3 separate regions of the Homo sapiens genome follow, and all the other regions are linked to region 2. The links are contacts of gene promoters, found by promoter capture Hi-C in blood cells and fetal thymus (Javierre and others, 2016). All regions are on one chromosome and are shown on one strand. The core of a region is centred on a gene start or on the middle of the fragment in contact, and the rest is flanking DNA. Distances in the headings are between cores, read along the strand shown. Region 1 holds the start of SLC35G5 (solute carrier family 35 member G5). Region 2 overlaps GATA4 (GATA binding protein 4). Region 3 holds the start of TDH-AS1 (TDH antisense RNA 1).

What was found. Contacts are between HindIII fragments. The CHiCAGO score rates a contact against its expected background, and 5 or more counts as called.
Region 1: a contact is called between the fragment with the promoter of SLC35G5 here and a fragment that was not itself captured in region 2, in 2 of 17 cell types (total B cells and naive B cells). The highest score is 6.9, in total B cells.
Region 3: a contact is called between the fragment with the promoter of TDH-AS1 here and a fragment that was not itself captured in region 2, in 3 of 17 cell types (naive B cells, total B cells and M0 macrophages). The highest score is 6.6, in naive B cells.

The regions. Positions count from the first base shown.
Region 1 is chr8:11,328,159-11,332,690 of GRCh38, forward strand. It overlaps SLC35G5 (solute carrier family 35 member G5), which reads left to right and starts at 2,854. Exons shown (of 1, transcript NM_054028.2): 1 at 2,854-4,202. The coding sequence starts at 2,949. The coding sequence ends at 3,965. It also overlaps a transcript of MTMR9 not described here. The HindIII fragment of the contact is 5,485 bases long and covers 1-4,532 here.
Region 2 is chr8:11,715,266-11,719,951 of GRCh38, forward strand. All of the region lies in intron 2 of GATA4 (GATA binding protein 4), which reads left to right. Among named protein-coding and RNA genes, the nearest start is that of SNORA99, 12 kb to the left of the region's middle. RefSeq lists an enhancer at 3,523-3,667 and a cis regulatory region at 3,589-3,602. The HindIII fragment of the contact is 2,161 bases long and covers 1,183-3,343 here.
Region 3 is chr8:11,344,286-11,349,247 of GRCh38, forward strand. It overlaps TDH-AS1 (TDH antisense RNA 1), which reads right to left and starts at 3,231. Exons shown (of 2, transcript NR_147705.1): 1 at 3,012-3,231; 2 at 1,463-2,355. It also overlaps the pseudogene TDH. RefSeq lists an enhancer at 2,921-3,544 and a silencer at 3,099-3,378. The HindIII fragment of the contact is 5,915 bases long and covers 1,264-4,962 here.

The sequences.
Region 1 (4,532 bases), core at 1,604-4,103, 390 kb before region 2:
TTTGAATTTTTTTTTCAAATATTGGTGAAGGTTTGGATGGTGTTTCAATTAAATCTATATATTTTTTACCTTACATTTTGAAAAAATTGAGATCTGCAAAAAGGCTGCAAAATAGTACACTGATCTCCCTAGATTGTTCCTATATTGAATGATTGGTAAAATTTTCCATATTTGCTTTAATACCACGTGTGTGTGTGTGTGTGTGTGTGTGTGTTTGTTACACTGTTATTTTGCTGAAACATCCGAGTTAGCTGCAGACATTGTGACCCTGTCTTCTAAATACTTCACAGGAATCTCCCAAGAATTAGGAATATGTATTCTACATATTATTGATTTAGTATGTATTAATATAAACACATGACTCATTGAGGGTAAAAGGAAAGCTCTTTCTTAGAGTAGAATGCCAGCTATTAAATGTAGAAAGAAAATGGAATTAAAAAGCCACTATTTGGCATATTATTACAGTAATCATTGACTTAGGCAATGCCTAACAGTGAATGGCAAAACTAGCAGGTGAAAATTTGTGAAGAACAGAATATAATCTCCAAATAGCCTTCCACAAAATAGTTACTAGTTACAAAGGAGAAAATACTAACTTTATAGTGAAAGGAACTGGTAGATATCACCTTATTTCAGGAAAAGTTAACATCATTAGTAATGGGACATATCAACATCATGTGCCTTCTGATATGATCCATCCAGAAACAGCACCACTGTTGGAGGGAAAAAGCAGTCTTAGGAGTTTTATAGTTTAAAATCTTACATTTAGATCTTAATCCATTCTGTATTAATTTTTGTATACCGTGTAAGGTAAGGGCCCAATTTCATTATTTGCATATGGATATTCAGTTTTTCCCAACACTTTGTTGAAGAGACTGTCCTTTTCCCATTGTGTGGTCTTGGTATCTTTGTTGAAGATTATTTGACCATATGCATATTCATTTCTGTGCACTCTATTGTGTTCCATTGGTGTATATGTCTGTGTTAATCACTGGAAGGCTGAGGCAGGAGGATCACATAGGGCCAGGAGTTCGAGACCAGCATGGGAAACATAACAAGATCCTGTCTTTACAAAAAATAAAAAAATTAGCCAGGCATGATGGTGCTCATCTGCAGTCCTTGCTACTCAGAAGCTGGAGTGGGAAGATCACTTGAGCCCAGGAGTTCCCTCTCCCTCTCTTTCCATGGTCTCCCTCTGATGCCGAGCCAAAGCTGGACTGTACTGCTGCCATCTCGGCTCACTGCAACCTCCCTGCCTGATTCTCCTGCCTCAGCCTGCCGAGTGCCTGCCATTGCAGGCTCGCGCCGCCACGCCTGACTGGTTTTCGTATTTTTTTGGTGGAGACAGGGTTTCGCTGTGTTGGCCGGGCTGGTATCCAGCTCCTAACCGCGAGTGATCCGCCAGCCTCGGCCTCCTGAGGTGCCGGGATTGTAGACGGAGTCTGGTTCACTCAGTGCTCAATGTTGCCCAGGCTGGAGTGCAGTGGCGTGATCTCGGCTCGCTACAACCTCCACCTCCCAGCCGCCTGCCTTGGCCTCCCAAAGTGCTGAGATTGCAGCCTCTGCCCGGCCGCCACCCCGTCTGGGAAGGGAGGAGCGTCTCCGCCTGGCCACCCATCGTCTGGGATGTGAGGAGCCCCTCTGCCCGGCTGCCCAGTCTGGGAAGTGAGGAGCGCCTCTTCCTGGCCGCCATCCCGTCTAGGAAGTGAGGAGCGTCTCTGCCCAGCTGCCCATCATCTGAGATGTGGGGAGCGCCTCTGCCCGGCTGCGACCCCGTCTGGGAGGTGAGAAGCGTCTCTGCCCGGCCGCCCTGTCTGAGAAGTGAGGAGCCCCTCCGCCTGGCAGCTGCCCCGTCTGGGAAGTGAGGAGCACCCCGCCCGGCAGCCGCCCCGTCTGGGAAGTGAGGAGCGTCTCCGCCTGGCAGCCGCCCCATCCGGGAGGGAGGTGGGAGGTCAGCCCCCGCCCGGCCAGCAGCCCCGTCCGGGAGGGAGGTCGGGGATCAGCCCCCGCCCGGCCAGCCGCCCCGTCCGGGAGGGAGGTGGGGGGTCAGCCGCGGCCTGGCCAGCCGCCCCGTCCGGGAGGGAGGTGGAGGGTCAGCCCCCCACCGGCCAGCCGCCCTGTCCGGGAGGGAGGTGGGGGGTCAGCCCCCACCCGGCCAGCTGCCCCGTCTGGGAGGGAGGTGGGGGGCGCCTCTGCCCGGCTGCCCCTTCTGGGAAGTGAGGAGCCCCTCTGCCCGGCCACCACCCCGTCTGGGAGGTGTACCCAACAGCTCATTGAGAACGGGCCATGATGACGATGGCGGTTTTGTGGAATAGAAAAGGGGGAAAGGTGGGGAAAAGATAGAGAAATCAGATTGTTGCTGTGTCTGTGTAGAAAGAAGTAGACATGGGAGACTTCATTTTGTTCTGTACTGGGAGGGGTTCTTCTGCCTTGGGATACTGTTGATCTGTGACCTTGACCCCAGCCCTGTGCTCTCTGGGGCATGTGCTGTGTCCACTCAGGGTTAAATGGATTAAGGGCGGTGCAAGATGTGCTTTGTTAAACAGATACTTGAAGACAGCATGCTCGTTAAGAGTCATCACCACTCCCTAATCTCAAGTACCCAGGGACACAAACACTGCGGAAGGCCGCAGGGTCCTCTGCCTAGGAAAACCAGAGACCTTTGTTCACTTGTTTATCTGCTGACCTTCCCTCCACTATTGTCCTATGACCCTGCCAAATCCCCCTCTGCGAGAAACACCCAAGAATGATCAATTAAAAAAAAAAAAAAGAAAGAAAGAAAGAAAGAAAAGAAGCAGAGTTGGACTCAGCGGGAAAATAGGCGTGCTACCACCTCAGGAGAGTTCCAGGGAAGAACCCCACCCGCACTCCAATGAGGTCACAATGGCTGGAGCTCTGAGGGGCCCAGGCTCCCTGAGCCAGGAGGAGAGGAGAAAGTCCAAGGAAAGATGGCTGGCAGTCACCCCTACTTCAACCTGCCTGACTCCACACACCCATCGCCGCCCTCCGCTCCACCCAGCCTCCGCTGGCACCAGCGCTGCCAGCCCTCTGGTGCCACCAATGGCCTGCTGGTGGCCCTGCTGGGTGGGGGCCTGCCTGCTGGCTTCGTGGGCCCCCTTTCTCGTATGGCTTACCAGGGTTCCAACCTGCCCTCGCTGGAGCTGCTCATCTGTCGATGCCTCTTCCACCTCCCTATTGCCCTGCTACTTAAACTGCGTGGCGACCCCCTTCTGGGACCTCCTGACATCCGAGGCTGGGCCTGCTTCTGTGCCCTGCTCAACGTCCTCAGCATTGGATGTGCCTACAGTGCAGTTCAGGTGGTGCCCGCTGGCAACGCTGCCACTGTTCGCAAAGGTTCTTCCACCGTATGCTCCGCTGTCCTCACCCTCTGCCTTGAGAGCCAGGGTCTCGGTGGCTACGAGTGGTGTGGACTGTTGGGCAGCATCCTAGGACTAATCATCATTCTGGGACCTGGACTCTGGACACTACAGGAGGGGACCACAGGTGTCTACACCACCCTGGGCTATGTGCAGGCTTTCCTGGGAGGCCTGGCGCTGTCCCTGGGGCTTCTGGTCTATCGTTCTCTGCACTTTCCCTCCTGCCTCCCAACAGTGGCCTTCCTATCTGGCTTGGTGGGGCTGCTGGGCTGTGTGCCAGGCCTCTTTGTGCTGCAGACCCCCGTGTTGCCCAGTGACCTCCTGAGTTGGAGTTGTGTGGGGGCAGAGGGGATCCTCGCCTTGGTCTCCTTCACATGTGTGGGCTATGCGGTCACCAAGGCCCACCCTGCCCTGGTGTGCGCTGTCCTGCATTCCGAGGTGGTTGTGGCCCTTATACTGCAGTATTATATGCTCCATGAGACTGTGGCACTTTCTGACATCATGGGGGCAGGGGTTGTGCTGGGCAGCATTGCCATCATTACAGCCCGGAACCTCAGCTGTGAGAGGACAGGGAAGGTGGAGGAGTGAGATAGAACTTGGGAGCCCGGGGGTTGGGAGGGACAGGGATAAATAAAGACAAAGACTGAAGACAAAAAAAAAATAAAAGAAAAAAAATAATTATAATAAATCCTAGGAAAGAGTGAAAGTCTAACTTCCATAGCACATTATAATATTGAGATGTTCAGTTATAATAAAAATATCACAAAGCATGCAAACAAATGAGAAATCTGGCTTATTTACAGGAATAAAATTAATTGAACTATCCTTAAGGAATCCCAGACTTTGGACTTACTAGACAAAGACTAAACAATTGTCTTAAATATGCACAAGAGTTAAAAGACAACTAAATGAAATCAGAGAAATGATGTTTGAACAAAATGAGAATATCAATAAAAATATAAAAATTATAGAAAGGAACCAGGTAGAAATTTTGTAGCTGAAACGTGCGACAACTGAGATGAGAAATTCACTAGAAGGGTTCGATAGAGTTTGTTTGTTTTTTGTTTTTTGCTTTTTTTTTTCTGAGACAGAATCTTGCTCTGTCACACAGGCTGGAGTGCAGTGGCATGATCTCAGCTCACTGTAACATCCGCC
Region 2 (4,686 bases), core at 1,013-3,512:
GGGGAGGAAAGCGGGTAGGTGAGGGATAATGGTAGAAAAGGGACTTTCACTATGCATGCCTTGGAACTTTTTGAATTTTTTAACCACCTTAATCATTTTTATACTCATTTCTGTGCCTTATTAATCCATTTAATAACAAGAAAATACATTTAACATACAGGGAAGTTAAAGTTAAGTTTAATGTAAAAATTTCAAATCATCGGCTGGGTGCAGTGGCTCACACCTGTAATCCTAGCACTTTGGGAGGCTGAGGCGGGCGGATCGTGAGATCAGGAGACCAGCCTGGCCAATGTGGTGAAACCCTGTCTCTACTAAAAATACAAAAATTAGCTGGGCATGGTGGCACGTGCCTGTAATCCCAGCTATTCAGGAGGCTGAGGCAGGAGAATTGCTTGAACCCGGGAGTTGGAGGTTGCAGTGAGCCGAGATCACACCACTGCATTCCAGCCTGGGCGACAGAGCAAGACTCCATCTCAGAAAAAAAAAACAACTCAAATCATCTTAGCCACTTTTAAGTATACAGTTCAGTAGTGTTAAATACCTTTGCATTGCTGTGTATCAGATCTTTAGAACTTAAACTCTGCCCATTAAAATACCACTCCCATTCCTCTCCACACCAGCCCCTGGTAACCCCCATTCTATTTTCTTTTTCTTATGAATTTGACCACTCTAGGGACCTCACACAAGTAGAATCGTACAGTGTTTGTCGTTTTGTTTCTGGCTAATTTCATTTAACATAATGTCTTCATGATTCATCCATGTTGTAGCATGTGCCAGAATTTCCTTCCTTTTTAAAGCTGAATAATGTTCCATTGTATGTGTAGACCACGTTTTGTTTATCCATTCATCCATGGATGGACACCTGAGTTGCTTCTCCGTCTTGGCTACTGTGAATAATGCTGCTATGAACATGGGTATGCAAATGAAACCTTTTGAATTTGGAGAATGTGACTATATTACCTAATTTTAAAAACATATTAAACTAATTAAGTTTTAAAAAACAGATACATGATATTCATGAATCAACCTGAAAGTAGCATCTTTTTCTTTTTTTTTTAAAGAAGATTCTCTATTTAGTGTTTATGGATGCACAGGAAAACTGCTTTAAGGCATAAGTTGTTTTTTATTAAATTTGTCTTTTACCTATTCTTTTACAATTTTGGGGGTTTTCCTTTATGCTCAAGCTTCCTCAAGATTCTTCAAGGCAGATCAAAACCATCCTCAGTGGCAATCCTGTATTTGGCTTTTGATTTTGCTTATTTCACAGGAGGTTGCTTTACTGAGAGGGGGAAATCTCTACTCCTGGTCTCAGTGCTGGTAGTGGATCTAAATCAGCAATGGGCGGACACCCCAGCCCCACACTACTGTGGCTTCCCCACTTGTGGGCACAAACAGTCACGTACTAGGCAATGGTGACCTCTCCAGGTAGGCAGTTTTCCCTCAGGTTATATTGGAGTTAGAACCTGCCTGAAAACCACTAACCGGCTGCAGCGGTGGGATTGTGTGAAGAACAAGTTACCTTCCTCCAGGGCAAGGTGATTCTTTTAAACAAATTTTAAGACAATTTAGTTGTACTGAATTTAGAGCTGAAGCCAGTTGCAAATGTAGCTGCTTGTGTCTGCATAAGAAAGAGGAAGTATGCTAGTTTTCCTTTCCTTGTTCCAGAAGAGGGCAGTTCTTGCCAACGCGAGCTGCTGCTTTAAGAACTTGAAGCAACTTTTCTGACATCTGAAACTATTTGTCTTTTGGGAACTTATTTGTCCTAGCCTGCCTGCAGAACCAGCTGTTAAGGCTCTGTTGGGAAGGAGTATCGCTCTGCTATATTGACCTCTGGTAGACCATGACATGGCCCCATATGCCATACAACATAAACTGGTTACTAAGAGTAATTTAATGGCTATCTCTAGAGCTACTCTTTTGTTACCTTCTAAAGAAGGCAGGGAAGAAAATATAAATGGGGTTATAATAGGAATAATCTTGAATCTGTTTTAATTTATACAAAATACATTTATAAGTTTTGGCACATTCACGTTTGGATACTGGCTAACAACTTTTTAGCGAGAGTAGCCTGTATCTTGCATGTCATTCCATTGAACAGTAAGGTGGATCCCTGTCAATGAAGAAATCATCTGATGCCAGGGACTTTGAAGTCTTTCTCCAAGAGGTAGATACGATGATCTCTGTTTTGCTGGAAAGAAAGCTGATACCCAGAAAGAGCCTGTAATCTCAGGTCCCCGTGGGTAGTAAACAGCCCTGGTTTGGAACCCAGGTAAGTCCAACCTGCAGGATTGTACTTTCCCCCTTTCCCCACACTTTGTATTTGCCAAATCTGATATGAGGGCACTTGGCTCTTCAGAACCAGAAGCTATGTGTGATTGAAGGGCTCTATTAAACCTTAGGATTTTCCATGACTTGTCGCTCCCATCCGCTTCCTCTCCCCAGGGTAGCTTCTTGTCTGAGTTTCCGTTTGCTTCCCACCAATCACTGTCTCTCTAGGAGCAATGTCGTCCTACGGAATCTTCCGTATCATTCCTCAACTGTAAGCTCTGCAGTTCAGGAATGCAATGTTAGGAATCCCAGTGTTGCACAAACTTCCTTTCTAGCCGTTGGATTCTGGTGTGCAGAGAACTAAAGAGACTTCCCAGGATTCAGACCCTTCCAATGGGAGGATTCTCCTAACTCTAGGGGAACTGTTGGCTGCTTAAGAGCAAAACCATATGGCTCACTCAAAAATCCCTTTCCTAAGAGAAATCTATAACTGACCCTCTGTGTTCCCTTTTCTCTGAAGATTTCAAATATATTTGTGGTAAAAGCAGAGAAAGAAGAGGAGAAAATCATAATAAAAGCACAATAATGATGATTTTAGTAAAGATAAGAATGGGGCATGGATCAAGACAATGACTAAAACCCCAGGCAGGAAAAGCCCCGTGGAATTGGTCTGAACTGAATGTAGCAGCCCATCAGTGGAAGTTTTCTTGTTTCTGGCAGGTGGCCTATGCTTTTATCTATTACTGCTCTGTAATCAGAATTGAGCCACGATATTCAAGTTTCTTATCTGAATGATGGGAATTTGGTTTTCTGGCCTTCTGCATTTTGCAGGAGCCCAAGAATTGACCTGATGTTTTAAAATATATTTTCCCTCCAAAGGAGGAGTAAAATCCAGACAGGTGGGCCATTCTGTGTGTTTAAAGTCATTGAAAAGCCTCTGCAAGTAAAATTTGAGGCTGTCTGTAACCCACATTGAATAGTTACAGATATATTTTATTTTGGAGGATAAAAAATCAAGAAGTTACTACCACAATTTGGTGGGAATTTTGAATTTTGGAGTTTTCCTTTGTACTCAAGCTTCCTCACGATTCTTCCAGGCAGATCAAAGCCATGGGTTTTGGGATCCCCTAATCGCAAATCCAGTTTTGCTTCTTAAAATCTAATCAGTCCTTAAGTTATTTTTTAAATCTTCCTTTCTACTCCCCAGTTGAAATCTCCATTTCTACTTCTAGAAATCCAGTCAAACCTTATCGCCTCCATTTAGAACTGATCGATAGCAACTGGTGAGCAGGTTAATTATAATCGCAGAATAAACGCTGAAGTCTCAAAGTTCACCACTTTTGCAATGTTTCCAAACCCCTCGGGACCATGCCAGGAGGCGCTCATTGACCCATTCCGAGCAGGTGTGGGAGTTTGAACCAGGGGCAGACAATCAGATCTGATTCAAACAACTCAATTTGGTTGCTTATCTAGAGGTTTTCCTATCTTATGATATCTGTCATTTTAGATAAAAAAGAGTTCATCAATTGAGCTGGGAAATGGCAAAGTTACATTTTATTCTGATAAAAGTTTGCTAGTTGTTGTTTTATCAGCTTGGGTTGAAATTGTGTCTCCGTCAAGGTCTGCAATGACCTTTTCAGATATTTTATCAGGTATTAGGTGGGGGAGTCCTTTTTTTTTTTTTCCTTCTTTGACCTAGAAAAGAATGACCTGACTTCCAAGATCATAAATCAAACCAGGTAAAGACAGGCAATAATACAGGTTGCCCCTCAAAATTGAGTAGGCGGGGAAAACAAACAACAAATAAAACCTTTCCCTAGCATTTGGGGAGAACTTAACTTGACCCGAAATAAAGAATGTAGTTCCCACGGAGTGCACAGATGTAGGAAAATACTGCTTATTTTAAAAAAGAAAATGCTTTCCAGGCAAAAATGGCTTCAGAGAAACACGTAGTAATTTTTTTTCAAGTAGTATAAGGGAAACTTCTTTATTTTATGAAACTCAATGTATATTTATTATAGAAAAATGGAAAACTCACATAAACCAATGTAAAAATAATTGGTAATCTTACCATCCAAAGATAACCACTGTTAGGCATTAATCCTTGACTTCCAGTTATCCTACATACACAGGTATGTGTATAACTACATTATTAAGTAGTCGTGCAAGTTACTGTTTAAAGTCATTTCAGCACTGATGGCAATTTCTGTAAAATTAGTGACCCAGATTGGATCCTTAAACACTGATGCCATTTTTAAATAAAGCAGAAATGAGAAATTGACCAGCACTGTCAATAACAGCTGAATGGAAGAGTTGGGTGTAAAAACATATTTTTTAATCTTATGGTATATAATTTATAGCCACTTTAAAACTAAAGCATATTTGTAAGTTTTAAATTAGGGTCCTTGAAGCGAGGTG
Region 3 (4,962 bases), core at 1,981-4,480, 370 kb before region 2:
CCTTCACCCAGTGCCCCCTTATATTAACCTCTTACATAACTGTAGTACAACTCTAATGGAGAAGTAATCTGTAAGGAAGTAAAAAGGGCACTGTACTATGAACTAAACTAGAAAGTTTATTCGTGTTTCACTGGTTTTTCCACTGATGCTCTTTTTCTGTCCCAAGATCTAATCCAGGATTTCACGTGACAGGAGTCATTGTCTCCTTAATCTGTGACAGTTCCTCAGTCTTCCTGTCTTTTGTGACCTTGAGACTTCTGAAGGGTACTGGTCAGTTACCTTGTAGGAATGTTCCTCCATTTGGGTTGTCTAATGTTTTCTCATAATGAGATTGTGCATTGTTGGGCAGGAAAACCTCCGGGGTGCTGCGCTCTTCCCAGCGCCTCCTCTGTCAACACGTTTCTGGAGAGGTAAACCTGGGTCACGTGGTTAAGGTGGTGATGCCAGTTTTGTTCACTGCAAAGTTACTATTTTTCCCTTTGTTATTGATAAACATCTATTTTGGGAGAGATGCTTTGAGACTATGCAAATATCCTGCTTCTCCTTAGGCTTTCCCAGCTAATTTTGCCACATCTGGGGACCCTGCCTGCAGCAATGATTGCAGTAGTGTTTCAGTGGTGATTTGCCAAGTCTCTCATTCCTTCCATATGTATTAATTGGAATTCTGCAAGAAAGAGTTGTCGGCCAGGCTGCAGTGAGCTGAGATCATGTCACTGCCCTCCAGCCTGGGCGACAGAGTGACATCTTGCCTCGAAGAAAAAAAAGAGTTGCCCTTTCCCCCCATTTAGTCACTCATTCAGTTATTTATTTATATGAATATAGACTAGAGGCTATTTGTTCTTATTTATTTTTTTATTTGGGTTTGTGATTTTAGCGCCAAAATCTCAACCGTGAAAATGGAGAGAAATTCTGAATATTATCACTCCCTAAGTTAGGACAGAAACTTACTTTGCAGACAGAAGCCAAAGGGTCTGAGGAGGACACAGGCTCACTGGGAGGACTGGAGAAGCAGCCTGAAGGGGCAGAAACCCAAGGCGGTCCTAGAGCCAGGAAGCCCTTGGCAGTGTCCCTGGGCGGGACTGGCCTCAGAGGGCCTCTGCTAGTGGGGACAGGATTTAAATCTCAGATAGTGTCTGCCCCTTGACTGAGGAGGGCGAGGACTGACGCCATTCACTTCAGCCTCTTTGCATGGGGAAGAGAGGAAGTGGATGCTAGGTAGCCAGAAAGCACCCACTTTTCAGTCCCTGGAATCCCCAAGAACAAAGCTTGAAGCTATGGTCTGTGACCCCGCCCGACCGGCCGCCATTCCCCAATGCAGACCAGAGGCAGTGTCAGCGGATCGCTCTACTCCGCAACGCTCCCACCTGTAATCCTGATGCAGGGCAGGTGAGCCCCAAAGTGGAGCTTCCACCAGGAGGGTTCTTGGCTTTGCCCAGGAAAGAATTCAAGGGCAAGCCAGAGGTAGAAGAAAACAGCTTTATTGAAGAGGCAGGGTTACAGCTCCGTGACTGCTCCTGCAGAGCAGGGCTCCCCCATAGGCAGAGAGGAGCAGCTCAGGGCAGTTTTGCAGTTTTATATATATATATATATATATATATATATATATATATATATATATATATATATATACACACACACACACACATACACACACACACACACACACACACACTCACACACACACACTTTTAATTGCATACAGATTAAGGGGCGGTTTATGCAGAAATTTCTAGGGAAGGGGTGGTAATTATTGGGTTACTGCCACGGAAAGGGGCGGTAACTCCCTGGTATTGACATGGCAACGGTAAACTGACGTGGCACCCTGGTGGTCCTATCTGTTGGAAAGCTGCTTTGGCCCTGACCTTGCTTTAGTTTGTCCTCAATCTGGTCTGGTGTCTGAGCCCCGCCTCCTACCTCAATCCCACTCAAGGTGAGCTTGATATCCTCTTCCATCCACCACCAAGTTTGTGGAGAACGGAAAATAGCTCCTCATGATATGATAAGGAGTATTACAAAGGGCAGCGAGGCAGGGACAGGTTGCCTGGGTCAGCATTCTGGTCCCCCGTGGCCTTGATCCCATCTCGTCACGTCTCTGGGGGTATCGTGGTCTCGGTAATCTCAAGTCTCTTGAGATGCCAAAAGTCTGAAACCCCTACCTCCGTGGGCAGTTCGGTAGACCGCAGAACCGTAGTCATTTTAGACTGCATTAATAACACTTCAGGCGGGGAGACTACGCTGAGCAGAATGCACGGTGATCATGACCTAGTCGACATATTTCAAGGGCGCCAGAGGCAGAGCCATCTTCAGGGATCAAGTCAAGGGAGAAGCTGAAGAAAACGGGGCCTGGCTAGCCCGCTAAACAAAACGAGACAGATTTCACAAAATCACAGATTGTTAATGTCAGAAGACACCTTAGAGTTGTTTCTCCCAAACCGAAGGCGCCTGCAAGTCACTTGGGGATCCTGTTAAAATGCAGATTCCCTGGTTCGGTAGGTCTGGAGTGGGGGCTGCTTTGTCCAGAGACCACACCGTGGGTCCAACCTTCACAGCACACTGGAATCGCTTTAAGAGCTTAAAAAAATACTTAGGTCTGGGCTTCTCTATCCCCGTCCCCCCCAGCCCCGGAGATTCTGTCATTTGGTCCGGGGGCAGCCTGGGCGTTTGGAGGTTAAAAAGCTCCCAGGTGATTGCAATATGCAGCGGAGTTTGAGAACCAGCGCCTTGGACCCAGCTTCTTAAGCTACTGCGCGCACCGGCGTCCCGCTGGGGGCGCGCGAGCCCCACCCCCAGAGATGCTGACTCAGCAAGTCGGGAGGGGTTGGGGGTGGGACCTGCCAATCTGCATTTCCAACCGGCGCCCAGGTGACGCTGACTCTGCTGGTCTACCGTCTTGGGGGTCACCTAATTTTTCAGCGATGCCTCCCAGCTGGGGAGGCCAAGAAGTGCCTCGCTCAAGGTCTTCCAACACCCGACCTCCAGACCCTCAATCCTGGGCCAGCTACACCGCAAACCTTTCCAGCTGTCTCTCCTGCGCCCTGCGTTTCTTCCCCACGTCACTTGCCAGGGAGCCGCTAAACAGCAAGACCGCGCGCTCTGCGGCTCCAGAGTGCGGATTTCGGTCGCGTGCGGCTCTGACCGCGTCGCCCCATCCCTGGCGGGGCCACGCACGGACGCCATGGCTGGCGCCGCGGAGCCGGGCGATGCGCGCGGACTCTCCCGGGGCCCTGACTGTCCCTGAGTCCTCCCTGCGGGGGGCGTGCGCGGCCCGCCCCCCGCGGCGCCACGCGGCCCCTCCTCGGCCGGGGATTGGTGCGCCGGGCGGGGCGGGGCGGGGCGGGATAAAGGCGCGGGGTCTGGCTGCGCGGGGTCTGCGGGCAGCTCCAACTCTGGGTTCGTAGTTTGCGCTGGGTGCGCAGGAAGGTCAGTGTGGGGGTCGCCCGACATTTCCCCCCCGCGGAGGTGGGAGCCGAGCCACATCTTGGAGTGGGGACTGGCCGCGGAGCGGGTTGCCCAGGGCCGGCCGAGGTCGGGGCGAGCCCTGCGCGGCGCTGGAGACTCTGCATTCCCGGGCGCGCGCAGGGTCCCCGGCCGTGGTCGCAGAGTCAGGAGGGGCGGCTCCGGAGCCCGGCGCGGGGAGGGCCCAGGCGCAGTCGGGGTTGGCAGGGCGCGACACTCGCTCCCCTCCACTTTTGAAAGGGCTTCCCACGCCGAGAAGAGGGGCGGGCATGGCCGGCCCGGCGAAACCGGTTTGTACAGACTTTGGGAAGCCATCGCCTGCGGAGGGTGGGACCCCACAGCTTGTCCACCTGCCCAGGCTGAGACCTCGTGTCCTAGTCCTGGATGCCCCACGGGTTTCTCGTCCCGGGCAGCGGCGCACGGGAGGAGAAGACTCCCGGTCTGCAGTCAGACCTCCCTCTGAGACCCTCCCTAGCTCAGGCTTAGAGCTTTGGGATTTTTCTCGATCCTTTCTAGCTTTCAGATCATCCCCACGTAAAGTTCAGACTTTACCAGCCCAGAGAGTTTAAAAAAAAAAAAAGAGAGAGAGAGAAAGCGAATGTGGATTGAGCCTTTACACTGACCGCGCAGTTTGCACAGTGCTTTTCATAGATTGACTGCTTTTATTAAACGCTCTCAACAGTCTATTAGGATGGCATGGTGATTGCCCCCTTTCTGAGGACGCGGAAACTTGAGATTTGGCGAGGCAAGAAGCCAGGCGCACACAGCTAGGCGGGCCGCGGGCCGCGACCCCCTGGCTGGTCCGTGCTCTCCCCCTGGGGAGGGGTGCAGGCTGCCAGGAAAGGTGCCCCCTGCGTGGCCCTGGGGGTGTTTCTTCCTCTTTGTCTCTTCTTAGGCATCTGATCTCATCTCTTAAGTGGGAAGAGTCGGGGTGGTGGAAGTAGAGGGTATGGGACACGGTGGACCTACCTCACTTGGTAGTTAGTAACTGCCTCACCTTGGGCGGGTCAGTGGATTCTGAACAATGGGGAAAAGGTCCCAGCTTCAGGGTTGCTGTGAGGGTTTAAGAAGAGTTCAGGAAAGCAGATGCTTCACCAACGCTCCGTAGTTACCAGGCGCCTGATTTTTCCTTGGATCATTACTATTAAGAGGATGCATTGGTGATGATGATGATGTAATGAGTCAGAGGTTTTAAAGCCCAGACTGCCTTGAAAATGCGTCTGGTAAACCTTCTTGCTCCTTAAAGCAGAATAAGATTGGAGTGGGGGAACGCAGTGAAAATGAAGGTGGGCATGGACATATAAGTATTAAGTTAGAAGTGGGGAGGGGGCAGGGGGCATTGGCGCCAGGAAGTTGTAAACTGGGCAATTATCACCCAGTCCAGAGCAGGGAAGGCCCGTTGTGAGGGGCTAGGCATGAAGGTACCAGCAGCGTACATGCTCCTGCAGACCCCTGAGGCTGGAAGGAAGGAGCGGGCAGTGGGAGAGTAATAGGTTTAAGCACGTT